Linked DNA regions of Homo sapiens: region 2 is linked to region 1. The links are contacts of gene promoters, found by promoter capture Hi-C in blood cells and fetal thymus (Javierre and others, 2016). All regions are on one chromosome and are shown on one strand. The core of a region is centred on a gene start or on the middle of the fragment in contact, and the rest is flanking DNA. Distances in the headings are between cores, read along the strand shown.

Region 1 (4,592 bases), core at 873-3,372:
AAATCCTATGTAATTTGTAAAATAGTTTGGATTTGATTTTTCCCTTAATTGTCAATGTTGAGAGTGAAAATATGGCATTTCATTTTGACTTTCGGAATGTTCAGAATAAAGTTTACAATTTCTCAGATTCCATGTAATCCCTGAATTCATCCTAAAGTTACTGGACCAACGTAAGTTTCTTCTTAATGAAATACCAAGTGGGCACTTTCTTTTCAGAATTCACCAGCTATAAAATAGGGAGACCTCTGCATTTTAGATAAACTGTTTTCAGGCTAAATCTCTAATTATTGGGACTAGAATTTTCAAATATGGGAGTGAGACTGCAAAAAAAACACAGTGAAGAAGAAAAGAAAATAGCTCTATTTGTCTTTTTCTAAATACTGTCATTCAATTAGCCCTGGGCAGGCCGGAAAGTCTGACAATGTCTGTGGCAACCCTGCAGTTTACTCCTTGGTTTGGTTTTCTTTGGTGGTCGTTCTGTTTCTCCTAGACACCTTGCTAGCGTTTCCCCCTACAGCATTTCTCTGGCGCATTCTTGCCCCTTTCACTGGGTACTTTCGAGATTTCTGGACCGGGCCCCACTGCCGTAAGAACCACAACAAACCATAAGAGGTGAGTGAGAGGAGATTGCCAGCCTACCAGCCTGGGGAACCTGAATCTGGGGATCACGACTCTGTGACTGTAGTTGCACAAAATGGAAGGTACCCATTTTGTGTAGAGTGTGCCCTGTACAAACATTTACCTAGAGCTGACTAAGTGCCTGATACTGTCCTGCCCTGGGATAGAGCGAAGGAAAAGAAACAATCCCTTTCCCTAACATCCCCAGGATCTCCTGGTGTGCAGGCACTGGCGCTCCCGGAATCGGTCCCGCGGTCCCACCCACCTCTGCCTGGTGATGAGGTTGATGTAGTGTCGCAGCGCCGAGTAGTATCTGGCCATGTCCTCCGCTGGTGCGTCCTCGCCCGGGTTGTCCGGCTTGGAGGGGTACGCCTCGGCCAGCGCACCCAGGCACACGAGCAGGGACAGGGCGAGGGTCAGTCCGGACAGCCCCAGTCGCTTGTTACCTAGCATCTGCAGGCACAGAAGGCTCAACGGACGGGCTTGGGGATTCAGAGCACCCACGCGCAGCACCTCCCTCCTCTGCCCCCCGCGCTCCTCCTCCTGCTACCACACGCGACCCCCAATCCGCTCTCGTCCCAGTCCCGCAGAGAGAACCCAGGAGTGGCTAGCACCACCTTGCGGGCTCCGGGCGCCGTCCGGTCGGGACCTGCCCCTCTGCTCCACCTGAAAACTTCGCGCAACTTCGTTCGAAGTCTCAGGGACCAAGAAGCGCGCGGCGAGAGTGCAAGGTGGGGGCCCCGCCAGTTTAGCATTCAAAACCGAATTGGAAGTTCTTCCTGCTGGGTCACTTTTCTCCCTTCTTGCCCAAACTCTTGTCTGGGAAGAAAAGTTTCTTCTCTGTTACTTCTGGTCTGCCTAGCTTCAGGGGATCAACGCTGACAGCAGAGATCACCTCGGGGTGACGACTGCGGTGGGGAAGGGGAAAGAGAATTGCTCCCTGGGCCAGAATTGCTCCAAAGAGATTTGGAGCCCAAGAATCCAGGGAGGTGGCAGGGCGCGGGGCTCTAGAGCTCCAGGGATTCCTCACTCGATGGCGCTGCCGGGGAAACCTTCCTACCGCGCACCGCTTCCTGGGCCTCAAGGCGGCGACCCGCAGGGAGACCGCCAGCTGCCTTGGGATAGCGGTCCCGGGTTCTCCCTCCATATCTGCTAAAAGGTAACTCAGAAGAACCGCCCAGCGGGAAGGGCCCGGGAGAAGGGCCGTGGACAATCAGAGGGGAGCAGAGGAACAAGTGGAATTTAGCCGCCAAGAGGGCTGGTCCGCGTCGGGGCGCGGAGCCGGCATAGTCCGCTGGGGAGTGGAGCGCGATCATCCCAGGGCCCCAGGGCTCCACAGAGCGGGAGGCTGCGTCTCTAGCAAGTTCGCGGGCGCCCCGTTCGCTCCCACCCCTAGACAGACGGGTCGTAGCACTCACGGTGGCTGGCGCGCGGGCGTGGCTGGGCGGCAAGTACTATGCTGTCGGGCGAGCGTCTCCGAGGGGTGAGAGCCAGCGGATGGGGTGCAGAGAGCGGGTCGCGACAGGGCTTTTATGGAGCTTCCTCGCCGCGGCAGGAGGGGCCTCGGGCAGTCACGCTTGGGTGACTCCCACCCGCCACTTCCCGCCCCTGAGTGGCGGGGGGAGGGGGCTGGAACCGCAGCCGCACGAGTGTCGACTTAGGGAGCCACCCACACCCCAACCCTCCCGCCCCAGGCACTGCCTGAAGAAGCGGGGCCTGGGACCGCGTGAGCGAGGCAGCGCACTCCGAGCGCGCTGGACAACACCAAAGCCCAAGTATCTGCCCTCGGGCAGTGCCCGATCCCTGCTTTCCTTCTTTCCTTCTTTCCTTCACGCCCCGTCTAGTCCTGCCAGAGATAGGAGCAGCCCAGACGATTCTTGTCTCCTGCCAACAGGACTACCAACCCACTGGGTGCCGGAGTAGGAAGCACCTGAATCCTCTTTGTGGTGGGGCATCTCCACGACTAGCGCGGCATCCTCGCCGGGCACAACTGCGCGCTGTTGGAGTGAGGCAACTGGGCGCACAGATTTTTCCTGTACTTAGAACAAGTCGGAGGCAGCTGCCGGAAGTCTCCGGCTAGAGGGTCCCAAAGCTGCGCTCCCCACCCCACCCCCGCCCGTGGTTTCAGGGGCTTCTGCCCCTTCTCTCAGCTGGTTTTTCTAGATCAGCCTTCCTCAAGTACTCGCTCAGACGCAGCGAGCCAGGCTCGGTCGAGACATGAGTGTGGCGACTCAAAATTCCCCAGAGGGGGAACACGGTAAACCTATTCCCCCAGTTTGCTGAAAAAGAGCCACGCTTCCAGCTTCTAGAGACTCTTTTAAGCTCAATTTTAAAAATATATATTTTTTCTTTTTTGGTCCAAAGTGACGGTGGTTAAATGAACAACAGTTTCTGTCTTATTTACTAACCCTTGTATAGTCCTATGTACGTTCAATTAACGTTGAGAATGTGGGTTCTGATTAAGATGAAACATGTTAAAAACGATGAACATTAATTTGCTCATCGCGTTAAACCTGTTGAATGAATATGCAAGATACAGAAACTATTATTACAGGATCAAGATTTTATGCAGTGGACTGAGATCTGAAAGTTCCGTGAATGAATGCTCCTGTATCTTTCTAAATAAAATGGCATTTTATTTCTAAATGAAATATAAGTCTGAATCTTTCTAAATAAAAAGGCATGTTGGGAAATTAAAGCATTAAGTTCCATGTTATTTTAATGCTAAAAGGACAAGTGATTCTGTTAAACTGACACTTAGTTTTTGTGCTGTTCCAACAGCATTGAATTAAATATCAAAAACCGTGAAGCAAACAATCCTTTGCATGTATGTGTTTGTGTGTTTGTGGGATCAAACTATAATTTTGGAGACCAACATCCCTTTCACTTGGCAACTGCTTCTCTTTCTGTATTACACAAACATATGCTGAGGACACAAAAATCAAGGCTCTCAGAGTTGCTCGGGGGTGCTTACAAGACACAGCCTTCGGTAAAAGTGCAAAACATCTTCTAACTTAGAGCTCTTCCTAGATAAAGGGAAAGTTACAGTCCACTTTTCAATAAAATAATCTTATTTTAGAGTGTATCACAGATTCATATCAATTAAAATCTGAACTTAAAATGTATCACTGAATTTGGGAAAAATTACTTCTAGGAAGGCCCACACCACTATTGAGAGAAGAACACTGTGGAGGCTTGATTAATTTAGCTTAAGATAATGTCATTGATTCTCAAGAATAAGAACTTATTCTGAGGGTTAAGGATTCAGAGAATAAAAAATAGGGGGTGATATGCCCTACATGTGCTTACATCCTTATCTCCTTTCTCTCCAGTCCAAGCCACATCCCCTGGCCAAAATACAAACAAAACCAACTGTTGGCAACTCAACCCTGCATCTTCTCCTAGCTGCTGAGCCATTTCTCTCCTTTGTTTCAAAGTCAAGTTGTTTATTTCTAACAGCTTTGTTAAGATAACATTGAGATACTGTTGAGCTTGTTGAGATTCAAAAGGAGGTGAATCAGTGGAGACTAGAGAAGGTAATGACCGAGAGAAGTCAAATAACCGGTAAAGGTCCATGTGGTTTGCAATTAGGAGGTCTTACTGATAGCAGGTTCATAGCTTGATTCAGATAGAACCTGGACCACATGAAACCCAGTGGTTTCATGACTAAACCTAAGGTAAAGAAGCAGAAGGAATGAATAGATACTGCTGAATATATACAAAGCTACAAATGTGTAAAATATTCAATTGGATATATTCTTACACATATGCATGTGTGTTATATGCTCAGGAAGCCATCACTGAAACCAAGAAAATGAAGATTATACATCACTTCCCCAAATTTCCACATGTACCTTTGTAATTCCTTCCTTTTGCCTCTTCCTCACCCCCTCCTCCATTGATCTGCTATCACTAGAGATTTGTTTGCGTTTTCTAGAATTGCACATAAATATAGTTCCACGGTAGGTACTCTT
Region 2 (4,518 bases), core at 1,314-3,813, 710 kb after region 1:
TACTAAAACATACAAAAAATAGTTAGGTGCTATGGCACGCGTCTATAATCCCTGCCTCTCAGAAGGCTGAAGTGGGAGGATTGCTTGAGCTTGGGAGGTCGAGGCTGCAGTGGGCCATGATTGCACCATTGCACTCCAACCTGGGCCACAGAGACACTGTCTCAAAAAAAAAAAAAAAAAAAAGAAAGAAAGAAAAAGTCAAATAAATGTTTATTATTGAAAAACATAAATAATATTCAGTTTCTTCTTTATCTCTTTCAATATTATTTTTTGAGATCTACCCATATTATGATACATAAATCTAACTCCATGCCACAGTTCACCTGTCCATTCCCTTAATCAGGCCCACCCTTAACATTTGTGGGGTCTGAGGCAAGAAACCAAAGGCAGCCTATATATCATAAGTTTAAATATTTAAAAGTCATAAGTGATGCCGGGCGTGGTGGCTCACACCTGTAATCCCAGCACTTTTGGAGGCCGAGGCAGGTGGATCACGAGGTCAGGAGTTCAAGACCAGCCTGGCCAACGTGGAGAAACTCTGTCACTACCAAAAACACAAAAATTAGCCAGGAGTGGTAGCGCACGCCCGTAGTCCCAGCTACATGGGAAGCTGAGGCAGAAGAATCGCTTGACCCGGGAGGTGAAGGTTGCAGTGAGCCGAGATAGCACCACTGCACTCCAGCCTAGGCAACAGAGTGAGGCTCTGTCTCAAAAAAAAAAAAAAAAAGTCATAAGTGATAATAACATGCTGTAAAATTAGATATTTATTCTTCTTCCTTGCCAAATATTCCTTTGTAAAGACAAATTTAACCTTTTCATTCAGCCTTAATTTTTTAAAAAGAAAAATTGAAATGTATCTGTAAAACTCTGAGTTTTATATGACTTAGAGTTGGCATAACATCCAAGAAGGCTAAAATTAATTATTTTTACCCACATCTTCTGTTGATGGATGATGACATCTGGATGAGTTTTAAAGACCTATGTAATTCAAAAATTAGATATTTATTCTAAAACTTTATTTTTCTTGCCTTTCTTTTTCAGCAAAATCACTATAACAATCAAAACCTTCCCCTATTTTCTTTTCTACTGGCAGCAAGACCAATGCAGACACACGTTTTCGAGTGGTTATAGATATATAATTTTTTTTCTGAGACAGAGTCTTGCTAAAACACCCAGGCTGCAGTGCAGTAGTACCATCTCAGCTCACTGCAACCTCCACCTCCCGGGTTCAAGTGATTCTCCTGCCTCAGCCTCCTGAGTAGCTCAGATTACAGGCATGCACCACCACGCCCAGCTAATTTTTGTGTTTTTAATAGAGATGGGGGTTTCACTATGTTGGCCAGGCTGGTCTCGAACTCCTGACCTCAGGTGATCCACCCGCCTCGACCTCCCAAAGTGCTGGGATTACAGGCATGAGCTACTGCACCCGGCCAATTTTTGTATTAATTTGGAGAAATTTCACTCATCTGATGCCATACTTATATTAAAAAATTAACCATGGTCTGGGTACAGTGGCTCACGCCTGTAATCCACTTTGGGAGCCCGAGGCGGGTGGATCACCTGACATCAGGAGTTGGAGACCAGCCTGGCCAACATGGTGAAATCCCGTTTCTACTAAAAATACAAAAATTAGCCGGGCGTGGTGGCACATGCATGTAATCCCAGCTACTCGGGAGGCTGAGGCAGAAGAATCGCTTGAACCCGGGAGGCAGAGGTTGCAGTGAGCTGAGATTGTGCCATTGCACTCCAGCGTGGGCGACAAAGCAAGACTCCATCTCAAAAAAAAAAAAAAAAGAACCATGAATTTTTAAACATTCACATTGAGGTGTACAACCTGTATACAGTAAAGTGCACAAAGCTTAAGTGTATAACTCAATACCTTTGTGCATGTTTATGCCCATGAAACCCACCACCCAGATCAAGAAATAGATCAGCTCCCCAGTAAGATCTCTCAGGCCCCTTTCTATTCTTTCTGTACCCCACAAAGTAAGCAGTATTCTTTTTTTTTTTTTTTTGGAGACAGGGTCTCTGTAGTCCACGTTGGAGTGCAATGGTGCTTTCTGAGCTCACTGCAACCTCTGCCTCCTGGACTCAAGTCGTCCTCCCACTTCAGCTTTGTATTTTTTGTAGAAACAACGTTTGGCCATATTGCCCAGGCTGATCTCAAACTCGTGGATTCAAGTAATTCACCCACCTCGGTCTCCCAAAGTGCTGGGATTACAGATGTGAGCCACTGTACCCGGCCCTAAAGTAAGCACTAGTCTTACCTCTAGCATCATATACCATGACAATAAAATGATGCCATTAATTGTTTATTGTAATGCATATAATAAATTATTATAATAAAAATATTGCAAATATTTTAATTTTACTATACAAATTGCTTTCAGTTATATTGCAATTTTCTTTTTCTTATTTTTTAAAAAAATTAGAGACGGAGGTCTGGCTATTTTGCCGAGGCTGGTCTCGAACTCCTGGCCTCAAGCAATCTTCCCACCTTGGGCCTTCAAAGTGCTGGGATTACAGGCGTGAAGCACCATGCCTGGCCTATTATCTCTTTAAAAACAATATATCCATAGAATATTAAATTCTGGCCGGGCATGATGGCTCACACCTGTAATCCCAACACTTTGGGGGGCTGAGGCGGGTGGATCACCTGAGGTCAGTTCAAGACCAGCCTGGCCAACATGGTGAAACCCCATCTCTACCAAAAATACAAAAATTAGCCAGGAATGGTGGCTTGTTCCTGTAGTCCCAGCTACTCAGGAGGCTGAGGCAGGAGAATCATTTGAACCCAGAAGGTGGAGGTTGCTGTGAGCTAAGACCGCATCACTGTACTACAGCCTGGGCAACAGAGTGAGACTCTGTCTCAGAAAAAAAAAAAAGAAGGAGAATATTTATTAAGTTGTTTCAAAGTTTTTAATGCTGGGGCATTACAAAAAAAACTAAAATTGGGAGTATGCTAATCAATTTGTTTAAATGTCTCTTCAATCTATCATATCTAGAAAGCATGCTTTATGGAAATGTTTGATGGTTATTTGTACATGAATCATCTCATTTATGAAATTTATATAAACTTTTCTGTTTCTTTGCTCTAATTTCTGCATATTTTATTTGAATGTCATCTTGTTCAGTATACTTTGTTTTAGAACTATTTTCTCTTCCCTAGAAACAGACTCAGAAAAAAAAGAACTATTTTCTCTAAAATTTAAAAAATATTTTCTCAAAAGTGAAACTTGGATATGTAAGGTTTTTTGCTAAAGCTTTGCTAACATTAGTAATAGCAATGAATAGGAATTAATGACATTAGAAATAGTAATACCAAATAACTGTGACTAGTGCAACTTCAAAATAAATTTCATTCTCCCACAAAGCTCACAAATTGCTCTTTGCTTAAAGATCTTCTTTTGTTTTGTTTAACTTTTCTAGTGCATTGTATATCTTGTCTAAATTAAATCCAATTACGTTAACAACATTTAATAAACATTTTCCTCCTGTGTTCAAAAGTGATTTTGTTTATACTTCATCAGGGTGTTCAGTGTTTGGGCAGATCAAGAATACTATATTTAGGCCAGGCACGGTGGCCTGTAATCCCAGCACTTTGGGAGGCCAAGGCAGGTGGATCACTTGAAGCCAGGAGTTCGAGACCAGCCTGGCCAACATGGCGAAACCCTGTCTCTACTAAAAATACAAAAATTAGCTGGGCATTCTGGCATGCACCTGTAATCCCTGCTACTGGGGAGGCTGAGGCATGAGAATCGCCTGAACCTGGCGGTGGAGACTGTAGTGAGCTAAAACCGTGCCACTGCATTCCAGTCTGGGTGACAGAGCGAGACCCTGTGTCAAGAAAAGAAAAAAAAAAAAAGAATAGTGTATTTAGTCTTTGATTTGATCCAGAGAATATCATTGCTATTGGCTGATTAACATCCAACTAATTCGAAGTGGCATAAGTGATTTCAAGAATGTTTCTGGATTTTTGGCTAAAATTATAGCATGTATACTTTATTTTAGCAAGGCCTTTATTGTAGGCTTTATTGTGCTTGGGGTGGAGGATATCACAAAGTTACAGACACACACTACTAGTGCCATATGTGCATCTATAACAGGATTTACTGGTAGAGCACACACAGTCCCCTGAACTCTTGCTATTTCATAACACAGGCCTGGCCTAGATGTTTTTGTTTTATTTTGAGACAGAGTCTCACTCTGTCACCCAGGCTAGAGTGCAGTGGCACGATCTCGGCTCACTGCAACCTCTACCTCCTGGGTTCAAGCAATTCTCCTGACTCAGCCTCCCAGGTAGCTGGGATTACAGGCATGCACCACCATGCCCACCTAATTCTTGTATGCTTAGTAGAGATGAGGTTTCACCATGTTGGCCAGGCTGGTCTCGAACCCCTGACCTCCAGTGATCCACCCACCTGGGTCTCCCAAAGTGCTGGGATTACAGGCATGAATCACCATGCCTGGCCCTGGCCTACATGTTCTGAATGCAACTTGGCCAAAGTCTCTGGGGCC

Evidence for each region. Contacts are between HindIII fragments. The CHiCAGO score rates a contact against its expected background, and 5 or more counts as called.
Region 2: a contact is called between a fragment that was not itself captured here and the fragment with the promoter of NPY in region 1, in 1 of 17 cell types (erythroblasts). The highest score is 5.4, in erythroblasts.

Annotation. Positions count from the first base shown.
Region 1 is chr7:24,281,720-24,286,311 of GRCh38, reverse strand. NPY (neuropeptide Y) reads right to left here and starts at 2,122. Exons shown (of 4, transcript NM_000905.4): 1 at 2,037-2,122; 2 at 884-1,071. The coding sequence starts at 1,071. The region is part of intron 2 of LOC107986777 (a long non-coding RNA gene); the gene reads left to right. The HindIII fragment of the contact is 8,579 bases long and covers 1-4,592 here.
Region 2 is chr7:23,575,000-23,579,517 of GRCh38, reverse strand. No RefSeq gene overlaps it. Among named protein-coding and RNA genes, the nearest start is that of CCDC126, 20 kb to the left of the region's middle. The HindIII fragment of the contact is 1,405 bases long and covers 1,861-3,265 here.